Linked DNA regions of Homo sapiens: regions 1, 2 and 4 are each linked to region 3. The links are contacts of gene promoters, found by promoter capture Hi-C in blood cells and fetal thymus (Javierre and others, 2016). All regions are on one chromosome and are shown on one strand. Each heading gives the region's core, a stretch centred on a gene start or on the middle of the fragment in contact. The rest is flanking DNA. Distances are from core to core; before and after follow the strand shown.

The links. The method cuts DNA at HindIII sites, captures the fragments that hold promoters and counts their contacts. A CHiCAGO score of 5 or more calls a contact.
Region 1: a contact is called between a fragment that was not itself captured here and the fragment with the promoter of CATSPER1 in region 3, in 2 of 17 cell types (total B cells and naive B cells). The highest score is 5.7, in total B cells.
Region 2: a fragment that was not itself captured here is called in contact with the fragment with the promoter of CATSPER1 in region 3 in 1 of 17 cell types (naive CD8 T cells); the score reaches 5.9 in naive CD8 T cells.
Region 4: a fragment that was not itself captured here is called in contact with the fragment with the promoter of CATSPER1 in region 3 in 1 of 17 cell types (naive CD4 T cells); the score reaches 5.3 in naive CD4 T cells.

What each region holds. Positions count from the first base shown.
Region 1 is chr11:65,602,093-65,605,289 of GRCh38, forward strand. The region is part of intron 8 of MAP3K11 (mitogen-activated protein kinase kinase kinase 11); the gene reads right to left. Among named protein-coding and RNA genes, the nearest start is that of KCNK7, 7.9 kb to the left of the region's middle. The HindIII fragment of the contact is 152 bases long and covers 1,177-1,328 here.
Region 2 is chr11:65,756,444-65,759,801 of GRCh38, forward strand. No RefSeq gene overlaps it. Among named protein-coding and RNA genes, the nearest start is that of AP5B1, 23 kb to the right of the region's middle. The HindIII fragment of the contact is 6,177 bases long and covers 1-3,358 here.
Region 3 is chr11:66,025,229-66,028,469 of GRCh38, forward strand. CATSPER1 (cation channel sperm associated 1) reads right to left here and starts at 1,251. Exons shown (of 12, transcript NM_053054.4): 1 at 1-1,251. The coding sequence starts at 1,151. The HindIII fragment of the contact is 12,999 bases long and covers 1-3,234 here.
Region 4 is chr11:65,739,617-65,742,645 of GRCh38, forward strand. No RefSeq gene overlaps it. Among named protein-coding and RNA genes, the nearest start is that of RNASEH2C, 20 kb to the left of the region's middle. The HindIII fragment of the contact is 8,139 bases long and covers 1-3,029 here.

The DNA of each region.
Region 1 (3,197 bases), core at 3-2,502, 420 kb before region 3:
CTTGGGAGGCTGAGGCAGGAGAATCGCTTGAACCCAGGAGGCGGAGGTTACAGTGAGCCGAGATCCCGCCACTGCGCTCCAGCCTGGGTGACAGAGTGAGACTCCATCTCAAAAAAAAAAAAAAAAAAAGCAAGAGAGGCTGGGAGTGGTGGCTCAAGCCTATAATCCCAGCACTTTGGGAGGCCAAGTAGGGCAGATCACTTGAGGTCAGGAGTGCATGACTAGCCTGGCCAACATGGTCAAACCCTGTCTCTACTAAATACAAAAATTAGGCCGGGCATGGTGGTTCACGCTTGTAATCCCAGCACTTTGGGAAGCTGAAGCAGGTGGCTCACTTGAGGTCAGGAGTTCGGGACCAGCCTGGTCAACATGGTGAAACCTCATCTCTACTACAAATACAAACATTAGCCGGGCATTGTGGCACATGCCTGTAATCCCTGCTACTTGGGAGGCTGAGGCAGGAGAATCACTTGAACCTGGGAGGTGGAGGTTGTAGTGAGCCGAGATTGCACCACTGCCCTCCAGCCTGGGCAACAGAATGACACTTCATCTCAAAAAAAAAAAAATTAGCTGGGCATGGTGGCACATGCCTGTAATCCCAGCTACTGGGGAGGCTGAGGGAGAATTGCTTGAACGTGGGAGGTGGAGGCTGAAGTGAGCTGAGGTCGCACCACTGCACTCCAGCCTGGGTGACAGAACAAGACTCCTTCTAAAAAAAAAAAAAGAAAATAGCAAGAGCAAGCTGGGTGTGGTGGCTCACACCTGTAATGCCAGCACTTTGGGAGGCTGGGGTGGGTGGACTACTTAAGCGCAGCCCAGCCTGGGCAACATGGCAAAACCCCATCTCTACAAAAAATATAAAAATTAGCCAAGCATGGCATGCACCTGTAGTCCCTGCTACTCAGGAAGCTGAGGTGGGAGGATCACTTGAGCCTGGGAGGCAGAGTTTGCAGTGAGCCATGATCATGCCATTGCAGTCCAGCCTGGGTAACAGAATGAGACTCTATCTTTAAAAAAATAAAAGACAGAAATGAGACAAAGGGAAGAGAAGATAGGGTCCAGCAGACAAAATGAGAGTGAACAGAAGTTCCTGCAGTCAATGGCCTGAGAAACTGAGGTTCTGAAGGGTAAGGGACTTGGTCAACATAATCCAGCTAGGATTTGAATCTGCCTCTAAGCTTCCTGGCAGCAAGAGTTAGCAACTCTGTTGTTTAGGAGAAAGCTGCGTGACTATTCTTGACCCAAAGATAGATAGATAGAGGCGAAACTGCTTCCGTGAGGTCTCACAGGGAGGACACAGCCACGTAGTTATTGGCTCTAAGGCAACAAGCTTCACAGGGCAGTTGCTATCAGCGTAGCTGAGTGCACCCTGCCAATGTGCCACTCCTTGCAGCCAGCTCTCCAGGGACCAGAACAGCCCACTGGGGACAGGGTGAGGGTGTGTGTGACTCTCCAGTGGTATGGCTTATGCCGGGGACCATCTCACAGGGTCTGGGACCTCTGTGAAGCCCCATTATTTGATTCTTAGCTGGGTTTCGGGGGGTGGCTGTGAGGTCAATGTCATGTACTTTCATGGACCCAGATGATGCGTGGAGTGTGGGATTGGGCTAGGGGAACCAGATGCTCAGCCAGCCACTGAGCTGGGCAGCTGACATCCTTTCAGGGCAAGTGGCAATCCATTTCTTCATCAGCCAGGAAGGGCACTGGTGTTGAGGCCGACATACTTATCAAGAACAGTAACTACCATGGTTTCCAGTGCTTTCATGAAACCTCAGACATGTGGCCTTCTGGCCACACATCTGCAATTTCATATTGTGGGAGCATTCACTGTATCCCTGGGGGCTGCGGCTCTCTCAGTTTGCAGGGGCTGGACCAAGAAAGAAGGCATTTCAGATTTCTATGGGCACAGATGTCTACAGAAGTTATGATGCCATGAAATACTTCGAGGAGATGAGGAAGGCTGCTATCTCTCAGAATGCAAAGTGATTTTGGAATATGAAGAATTTCTTTGGGTTGAATTACTTAGAAGTTTGTCACTGATCTGAACTATTCATGAATATATGGGCTAATAAGTAGTTTCTCTTCATAAATAATTAACAAATTCTTTGGATAAAAAAACATGGGGCAAGCTTGAGAACGATGGGGCCCAGGCCCCTTGTGCCCCTGCTTCTGGGAGCTGAGGGCCAGAGAGTTCTGTGGAACAGTCAGGACCTGCTTCAGCCTACACACCTGGGTTGACAGGCTCTCAAGTTCTCCTTTGGCCCATCTGGCCTGGTACAATTTAGAGCAAGTGAATTCAAGAAGCCTCCTTGGCCTTCCAGCTCTCAGTTCAGTCCCTGCAGGACAGATGCTGGGGGCAGTGCAGCTGCTGGAGTAGCAAATGGCGGGGCAGATGGAGGCCCAGGGCTCTGCCTCTGTGGTCAGACAGGCAAGAGCAGATCAAATCCCTGCTCTACTGGTTGCCTTACATCAAACCACTTAATCTCTCTGTGCCTCAGTTTTCTCTGTTGTAAAATGCAGGCCAATACTACTACTCCCCTCACAGAACTGCTTGGCACATAGAAGAGAACCAACAAAGGTTAGCTGTTGTTACAACTATCAAGTGTAGCTCAGGGAATGGAAGAGGCGATGGGCTGGGTGGGATGGGAGGAGTGAGTTTAAACGGCTTGCTGAACAGGACTCTTCTGAGAGCAGCTAAGCGGGTCCTACATTCTGGCTGTGAGCAGCAGGTGTGGGGGCTCTGAGGATGGTCCCTAGGTTGGCACAGGGACCCACAGGCAAGGGAGGCCATAACTCTCTGGCCTCACTCAGAGCTGGGCAGTGTTGAGCTGAGTGAGCCCTCCTCCCTGCAATGCTGGAGCCCTGCCTTCTGCCTGACCCTCTGGCTTCCTAAGCAGTCTATACGTGAGAAGCCCTTTCTTCAAGTGAAAGCTTCTGAGCTCACTACGAGAGCATTGGAGCTGAAGCCTCTCTGGGTTCAAATCCTCAGCTGGGGGTTTGAGGTAGGTTACTTCACCTCTCAGAGCCTCAGTTTCCTTATCTGCAAAATGGGGTAATAGTAGCCCCTCTTCATCAATGCTTGGAGGGAATGCCTGGCACAGTAGGGCAGTTACCGTCATGGAGAACAGAAAGGCCCCGAGCTATCCTGGATGTGGTGAGAATGGGTCCTGGATCCTGCCTGCTCGGCCTTCTCATTC
Region 2 (3,358 bases), core at 534-3,033, 270 kb before region 3:
CGATCTCCTGACCTCGTGATCCGCCCGCCTCGGCCTCCCAAAGTGCTGGGATTACAGGCGTGAGCCACCGCGCCCGGCCAAGTACGGGGATTTTTCAGCCATCTTTCTGTTATTGATTTCTAGTTTAATTCCATTGTGGTCTGAGAGAAGAAATTGCATGGTTTCTATTGTTTTAAATTTGTTAAAGTGTGTTTTATGGCTCAGAATGTGGTCTATCTGGTGAATATTCCATTTGGTCTTGAAAACAATGTGTATTCTGCTGTTGTGGGATGAACTATTCTATAGATGTCAACTGTATTCTTTCTTAAAATTTTTTTTTCTTTTTTTTTTTTTGAGACAGAGTCTTGCTCAGCCACCCAGGCTGGAGTGCAGTGGCGCAATCTCAGCTCACTGCAAGATCCGCCTCCCGGGTTCACGCCATTCTCCTGCTTCAGCTTCCCCAGTAGCTGGGACTACAGGCGCCCGCCACCACGCCCGGCTAATTTGTTTTGTATTTTTAGTAGAGACGGGGTTTCACCATGTTAGGCAGGATGGTCTCGATCTCCTGACCTCGTGATCCACCCACCTCGACCTCCCAAAGTGCTGGGATTACAGGCGTGAGCCACCGCGCCCGGCTAGATGTCAACTGTATTCTGTTAACTGGCAGTGCTGTTGAATTCAACTACATCCTTACTGATATTCTGCCTAGCAGATCTGCCTGTTTCTGTAGAGGAGTGCTCTTTTTCAAGATTGTTTTAGCTATTTAGGACCCCTTGCAATTCCATGTGGATTTTAGGATCAGCATTTCCATTTCTTCATAAAAGACCATTGGGACTGTCATAGGGATTGCATTGCGTTTATAGATTACTTTGGGGATTACTGCCATCTTAACAATACTAAGTCTTTCAATCCATGTACATGAATGTCTTTCCATTATTTATGTCTTCTTTATTTCTTTTAGCATGTTTTTTAATTTTTGGTATACAACTCTTGTATTTCCTCAATTAGATTTATTCCCAAGTATTTTATTCTTTTTGCTGCTATTATAAATGTAATTGTTTTTGTAATTTCCTTTTGGAATTGTTCATTGCTAGCATATATTATAGCGATACAATTCATTTTTGCCTATTGATCTTATATCCGAAAACTTTGCCGAGTTCATTTATTAACTCTACTAGTTTTTTGTGGATTCTTTAGGACTTTTTCATAAAAGATCACGTCATCTTTTAAGAGATATTCTTACTTCTTCCTTTCTGATCTATATGCCTTTTATTTATTTTCCTTACCTAATTACTCTGGCCAGAACTTCCAGGACAGTGTTGAGTAAAAGTGTTAAAAGTGGACATCCAGGCCGGACACGGTGGCTCACCCCTGTAATCCCAGCACTTTGGGAGGCCGAGGCAGGTGGATCACGAGGTCAGGAGATCGAGACCATCGTGGCTAACACGGTGAAACCCCGTCTTTACTAAAAATACAAAAAATTATCCAGGTGTGGTGGCGGGCTCCTGTAGTCCCAGCTACTCGGGAGGCTGAGGCAGGAGAATGGTGGGAATCCGGGAGGCGGCTTGCAGTAAGCCGAGATAGCGCCACTGCACTGCAGCCTGGGCGACAGAGCGACACTCCGTCTCAAAAACAAACAAACAAAAACAAAAACAAAAAAGTGGACATCCACTGGGCACGGTGGTTCATGCCTGTAATCCCAGCACTTTGGGAGGCCAAGGTGGGAGGATTGCTTGAGCCCAGGAGTTCTAGACCAGCCTGGGTAACATGGTGAGGCCTCATTTCTTTTTTGTCTTTTTTTTTTTTTTTTTTTGGAGATGGAGTCTCACTCTGTCACCCAGGCTGGAGTGCAGTGGCGTGATCTTGGCTCACTGCAAGCTCTGTCTCCCGGGTTCACGGGCACCACACCCGGCTATTTTTTTGGTATTTTTAGTAGAGACAAGGTTTCACCGTATTAGCCAGGATGGTCTCTATCTCCTGACCTTGTGATCCACCCGCCTCGGCCTCCCAAAGTGCTGGGATTACAGGCATGAGCCATTGCGCCTGGACAGAAGACCTCATTTCTATTAAAAATAAAAAAAAAAAATCAGCCAGGCATGGTGGTGTGTGCCTGTGCCTGTAGTTCCAGCTACTTGAGAGTCTGAGGTAGGAGGATCATTTGAGCCCAGGGAGATCCAGGCTGCAGTGAGTTTTTAATTTAATTTTATTTTTTGAGACAGGATGTTGCTCTGTTGCCCAGGCGACAGAAAGAAAAAAAAAAGACATCCTTGTCTTATTCCTGATCTTAGGCAAAAAGTTCTCAGTCTTTCACCACCGAGTATGAGTTTTTTTTTTTTTTTTTTTGAGACAGAGTCTCGCTCTGTTGCCCAGTCTGGAGTGCAGTGGCTCCATCTCGGCTCACTGCAAGCTCTGCCTCCCGGGTTCACGCCATTCTCCTGCCTCAGCCTCCCAAGTAGCTGGAACTACAGGCGCCCGCCACCACGCCTGGCTAATTGTTTGTGTTTTTTAGTAGAGACGGGGTTTCACCGTGTTAGCCAAGATGGTCTCGATCTCCTGACCTCATGATCCGCCTGACTCAGCCTCCCAAAGTGCTGGGATTACAGGCGTGAGCCATGGCGCCCGGCCGAGATTTTTTTAATAAGTGCCTTTTATCATGTTGAAGAAGCTCTCTTCTATTTCTAATTAGTAAAAATTTTTTATCATGAAAGGGGGTTGGAGTTTATCAAATACTTTTTCTGCATCAGTTGAGATGATCATTGTTTTTTTTTCCTTAAGTTTTAAGAGTTCTTTAGCCCTTGGTCTGTTGTAAATATTTTCTCCCATTTCATCAGTTGTCTTTTTATTCACATGTAGTTGTAAGTACTAATACAGATCTCTTTACCCTTAAACCTGTTTCCCTCAACAATAACATCTTGTAAGACTATGGTATGATATCATAACTAGGATATTGGTATTGATACAGTCAAGATACTGATCATTTCCATGATCACTTCCCTCTCACTCACACCCACTCCTTAACCTCTGGCAATCACTAATCTGTTCTCCACGTCTACGATTTTTGTCATTTTGAGAATGGACTATAAATGGAATCATACAGTTTGTAATATTGTAGAGTTACCTTTTTTTCACTCAACATAATCCCCTGGAGATTCATTCAGGTTGTCATGTGTATCAGTAGTTTGTTCCTTTTTTATTGCTGAGTAGTATTCCATGGTGCAGATGTACCAAAATTTGTTAACCATTCACCCATTGAAGGACATCTGATTTGTTTCCAGTTTTTAGCTATTATGACCAAGGATGCTATGAGCATTCATGTGTGGGTTTTTTGTTAATATGTTTTCATTTCTCTGGGATAAATGCCCAAGAGTGTAATTGGTTG
Region 3 (3,241 bases), core at 1-2,500:
TGGGTATGGACTTTTTTGGACATCTGGGTGACACGTGAGCGGATTGTGCTGGAGGACCGAGTCATGCTGTGAGCCGAGCCCCGTGGGTGTGCTACGTGATAGGGGAAGACTCCTGTACGAGAAGCAGCAGGGCCGGGGGCATCGTGAATCAGGCTCCGGGATGTGTGTGGGATAGAGAGTTGGGAAGTGCTCTGGACGTAGTCGCCATGGAGGTAACTGGAATGATACGCGCCGTGGTGGTCTTGGTGCTGATGGTAGTCTCGGTGCCGGTGGGTCTGGTGGTAGTGGTGCTGTGTGTGGTGGGGATGGTCGCCATGGTGGTACTCACTGGGGTGGTGATCACCTTGGTGGTACTCGCTGTGATAGTCAGATATCCCACGCTGGTAGGACCCCACAGAGGAATGAGGGGAAATGGTCTCTCCGTGATGAGGAGACTTTCCATGCTGGTGGGCTTCATGATGACGGGACCTGCCATGGTGGTGGACTTGGTGATGGTGGGGCCAGCCACGGTGGGGGACTTGGTGATGCTGGGACTCATCGTGTTGGAGCCCGCTAAGGTGGGAAGCCTCGCTGTGGTGGAAGGACTCACTGTAGGGATTGGGTCCATGGGGGAGGTAGGACCCACCATGGTGGGAAGCCTCACCGTGGTGGGGCACGCCAGAGGAATAGTGGGATAAATTCTCACCGAGATATTGGGGTCTGCCATGGTGAGACCCCCTATGGTAATGGGAGTCACTCTGCTGATGGAACCCACCGTATTGGGACCCATCATGATGCCTCCTGCCATCACGTTGGAGCTCATCATGGTAGTCCTCACCGTAGGAACGGTGGGAGGGGACGGCGCCTTGAGAGGGAGCCAGACCAAAGCCTGTGGGGCCATGGGCTCTGCCGTGATTCCGTGCCTCGCTGTGGTGGTGAGATTGGTGGACATGGGAGGACAAGGCTTGGTCGTGGAAGTCTTGGAACTCCGGAGGGTGGTGAGATTCACCACGTTGGTGGGGCACGCCGTGATGGTGCAACTCGTAATGGTGGAGAGCTCTGCTGTGGCCTGGCCTGTGGTGTGGGGGTGATGAGTGAGAGCGAAAGAACCTATCTGCGTTATTGGTGTCTGCCTCATTCTGAGCCTTTTCAGGCACTGAGTTTTGATCCATGACTGTGCTGGGAACTCTGGAGCCAAAAGAGCTCAAGACCTGGGCCCAACAGGCCCCGCCTGGATTTCCCTTCTTTCCTGAGCCAAGCTCAATGCAGACTGTGGCACTGGGCTTCCAGAAAGGCCTGACTATTCTCGTGGAACTCTCCCCTCTATGATGTCACCAGCAGGCCAGGGCCTCATTCCCAAATGCCTCTTCCTGGGCTATAGTTCGGAATCAAGAATTATTGTGTCAAACTCCTTCATTGTAAATGAGGAAACCGAGGTCAAGAAAAGGGAAGGACTAGACCAAGGTGACCTCACAGGTCACTGGCAAAGCTGGACAAAGAAGTCCATGGGGGCGCCATGGCTTCATCAGCTACTTTAGCCCTGTTGTTGGAAAGAAAATGGTCCAAGTGGTCCAGTCTTCAGTCCCATCTAGAGATCAGCTGGCTCTGGGGTGAAGACTGCCTGACTCCCTCATAAGTAGGTGTGTGACCTTGGGCTTGTTGCTGAACTTTCCCGTGCCTCAGTTTCTTCCTCTGTAAAATGGGAATAATAATACCTAGCCCACAGGATCAAAAAAGTTAAGATATGTAAGCCTTATATTAACAGCATAATACATGGTTTTTGTTGTTGTTGTTGTTGTTTGTTTCTTTGTTTGTTTTTGAGATGGAGTCTCGCTCTGTCGCCCAGGCTGGAGTGCAGTGGCACGATCTTGACTCACTGCAACCTCCACCTCCCAGCTTCATGCCATTTTCCTGCCTCAGCCTCCCAAGTAGCTGGGACTACAGGCGCCCACCACCACGCCCGGCTAACTTTTTCTATTTTTAGTAGAGACGGGGTTTCACCATGTTAGCCAGAATGGTCTTGATCTCCTGACCTCGTGATCCGCCTGCCTTGCCCTTCCAAAGTGTTGGGATTACAGGTGTGAGCCACTGCGCCCAGCCCATGTTTTTTTGTTTTTGTTTTTGTTTTTTGAGACAGTCTCACTGTCACCCAGGCTGGAGTGCAGCGGCATGATCTCCACTCATGGCAATCTCTGCCTCCCAGGTTCAAGTGAGCCTCCTGCCTTAGCCCCCTGAGTAGCTGGGATTACAGCCACCCACCACCATACCCCACCCCGGCTAATTTTTTTTTTTTTTTTTTTGAGACAGAGTCTTACTCTGTCACTAGGCTGGAGTGCCGGGGTGCAATCTTGGCTCACTGCAATCTCTGCCTCCTGGGTTCAGGCAATTCTCCTGCCTCAGCTTTCCTAGTAGCTGCGACTACAGGTGCACACCACACCCAGCTAATTTTTGTATTTTTAGTAGAGACGGGGTTTCACCATGTTGACGAGGCTGCTCTTGAACTCCTGACCTCAAATGATCCACCCACCTCGCACTCCCTAAGTGCTGGGATTTCAGGTGTGAGCCACCATGCCTGGCCAATACATGTTAATTGGCATTATTATTCTCTTCTTGATCTTGGAACCCCCCTTTAGGGTTATTACCAAAATTAAACTATCAGCCATCATTTATTGAGGATTGCTTCATACACATTTTGTTTTCTTTCTTTCTTTTTTTTTTTTTGAGACACAGTCTTGCTCTGTCACCTAGGGTGGAGTGCAGTGGCATGGTCTCAGCTCACAGCAACCTCCACCTCCTGAATTCAAGCAATTCTCCTGCCTCAGTCTCCCAAGTAGCTGAAAGTACAGGCGTGCACCACTACGCCCAGCTAACTTCTTTTGTATTTTAGTAGAGATGGGGTTTCACCCTGTTGGTCAGGCTGGTCTCGAACTCCTGATCTCAAACGATCTGCCCGCCTCGACAACCCAAAGTGCTGGGATTACAGGCATGCGCCACCGTGCCCGGCCCATACACATTAAATTTAATCCTCACAATAGCCCCACATGGTAGATATTGTTTATCCCCATTTGACAGACAAAGGTGCTATGGCTCAGAGAATATAAATGAGTTGCTTGATGAATGAAAACTTACCGTCAGTGCTATCTCACTCCAAGTCTGTATCTGTAACCTTCATGCTGTCCTGTCTTCCTCCTGGAATCCACTGCAGAGCTTGCCCTGTATGCTGAATTCATATGTGCACAGCGCAGCTCTTCTGGAAGCTTAT
Region 4 (3,029 bases), core at 170-2,669, 290 kb before region 3:
TGTAGTGCAATGGCACAATCTTGGCTCACTGCCACCTCCGTTTCCCGGATTCAAGCAGTTCTCCTGCCTCAGCCTCCTGAGTAGCTGGGATTACAGGCGTGCACCACCACGCCTGGCTAATTTTGTATTTTTTTACTAGAGATGGAATTTCACCATGTTGGTCAGGCTGGTCTCGAACTCCTGACCTCAAGTAATCCACCCGCCTTGGCCTCCCAAAGTGTTGGGATTACAGGCGTGAGCCACTGCGCCTGGCCAGAGGTTTTTCTAAGTCTAGTGAGAGGGAAAACAACTGGGCTCTCATTATTTTTCCCTTTTAGATTCTCACTTCCTGCAGAGGTATAAGCAAGGCATTATGAAAGTGGATTATAGGCATTTTCCAGTGGATGAAGTACGACAAAGAAAGTATTTTTATCAAGCAAAATGTAGAAGGAAAAGTGTAAATGAAGTGACAAGAAAAGAAAATGCTGTTACAGAAAATAACTTTAACTTTAAGGCAGAAAACAAGAAAAGGCAAGACTGAGATTCCCCTAGGGTGGGCCTCTATCCCACAATCCTGAGAGACAGTACCAATACCAAAACCCTTGGAGTGCCCAGGGGGCAGCCAGCAGTGAACCTCAAAGGCCTGGTTGGGGCCACAGAACAACATGACTCTGGTGTCCCAGGGTCAACACAACAGGGGACCTCTCAAAGACAAGTGTTCTGCCTTAAACAACTGCCCAAATAGTTTATCAGGGAACTAAAGCAAAAACTACAAATGAAACATACATTTCAGAGAAAAAATTAAAATAAAATAAAAGGCTGGGCATGGTGGCTCATGCCTGTAATCTTTGCACTTTGGGAGGCTGAGGCAGGTGGATTGCTTGAGCTCAGGAGTTCGAGACCAGCCTGGGCAACATGGTGAAACCCTGTCTCTACCAAAAATACAAAAAATTAACCAAGTGTGGTGGCATGCACCTGTGGTCCCAGCTACTCAGGAGGCTGAGGTGGGAGGATCGCTTGAGCCCAGGAGGTGGAGGTTGCAGTGAGCCAAGATCATGCCACTGCAGTCCAGCTTGGATACAGAGTGAGACTCCATCTCAAACAATGAATACATAAATAAAAAGAAAAAGAAAAATATTTAAAATAAAAAATAAATGAAATGGCAATGGAAAAATGAAAAGATGTTAGGGAAAGGACCGAGAGAAGGAGTGACAAGGACGTAGTTGGTCAGGTATGCCATGGGAGACTTTGAAATGACAATCTAAGATGCCCAAAGCCTTATTTCCTGGCTTACTCAATATCAAGGGGCAGAGGGGACAGTCACCCATCTGCAGGAGCCAAAATGGACTAGTCAGTCTCCAACCTGGGGCCTGGGTTAAGGGCTCCTCCCCAAGTTTCCTCAGCTTGAACAGGCTCAGCTACCATGGGGGGTACTGGCGCACAGGCCAGTGATCTGCTGGTCAGAGTGGTGGGTCCCACACAAGGCAGTGGCTCTGTGGCTGCTCACCTGCCTACTTGGCTCCACTGCCTGCCAGGAAAGGTAATGGCTCTTAAAAGAGCCTTTGGCTAGTCTTACAGCTCTGCAGCTTGTATTGCTGTAGCACCAATCACCATCTCACCTACTCTCATTCATCGCTGTCTTGCTGCCTCTCATTGCCTCTCTCTTATTGCTGCCCCTTCCCTGTCCGCCGCCTTGCCAATCTCTGTCTAGCTGATCGCCATTTCTCACTGTCTCTCATCGTCTCACCTCTCTGCCAATCGTGGATCACCAGTCTCACTGTCAATCACTGTCTCTCACCATCTGTCCACTGATTGCTGCTGTCTCTGCTGTCACATCACTTCTCTGCTGATCGCTGGTCACCACTATCTCACTGCCACTTCACCAGTCACCAATAGCTGTCATCTCTGCTGTCTTTGTCGTCTTTGTGGTCACCAGATGATACAGGACAGGTAAGCCCCAAAACTGGGGCTGAGCTTGGGTGAGTTCTTGGCTTCACCCAGGAAAGAATTCAAGGGTGAGCCAGTGGTGTTAGACAGCAGCAACTTTTACTGAATGGTGCTGCTCCTTGCAGACCATGACTAACTCATTGGCAGTGCACCCAGAGTAAGAAATGTATGGGTTTGGCCAGGCATGGTGGCTCGCATCTGTAATTCCAGCACTTTGGGAGGCCGAGGCAGGCACATCACTTGAGGTCAGGAGTTCCAGACCATCCTGGCCAACATTTTGAAACCTCGTGTCTACTAAAAATACAAAAATTAGCTGGGTGTGGTGGTGAGCGCCTGTAATCCAAGCTACTCGGGAGGCTGAGGCAGTAGAATCACTTAAACCCAGGAGGCAGAAGTTGCAGCGAGCCAAGATGGTGCATTGCACTCCAGCCTGAGCGACAGAGCGAGACTCCGTCTCAAAACAAAACAAAACAAAACAAAAAATGCCAGGCATGGTGGCTCACGCCTGTAATCCCAGCACTTTGGGAGGCTGAGTTGGGTGGATCATGAGGTCAGGAGTTCAAGACCAGCCCGGCCAACATAGTGAAACCCCGTCTCTACTAAAAATACAAAAATTATCCAGGCATGGTGGCGGGTGCCTGTCCCAGATACTTGGGAAGCTGACACAGGAGAATCTCTTGAACCCAGGAGTCGGAGGTTGCAGTGAGCCAAGATCACACCGCTGCACTCCAGCCTGGATGACATGGTGAGACTTTATCTCAAAAAAAGAAGAAAAAAAAAAAGAAATGTATGGGGTCTTGACAACTGTGTTTATATTCACTTAAATGCATTTTCAATTATATTCAAATTAAGGCGTGAGTCAATTCAAATTGAGGGGCTAGTTATTTAGAACTTTCTAGGAAAGAGACAGTAACCTCCAAGTTGTTGGCATGGAAAGGGGTGGTAGCTTCCAGGTCATTGCCATGGCATTTCTAAATGGTCACAGTACTTGTGGGAGTGTCTTATGCTAATGAATAATGAGGGCAGCCAGGGATCACTTTCCTTGCTATCTGCTGGTTCCTGCCAGTTTCCTCACTTTATCCTGTCTAGATCAGATCCTGTTT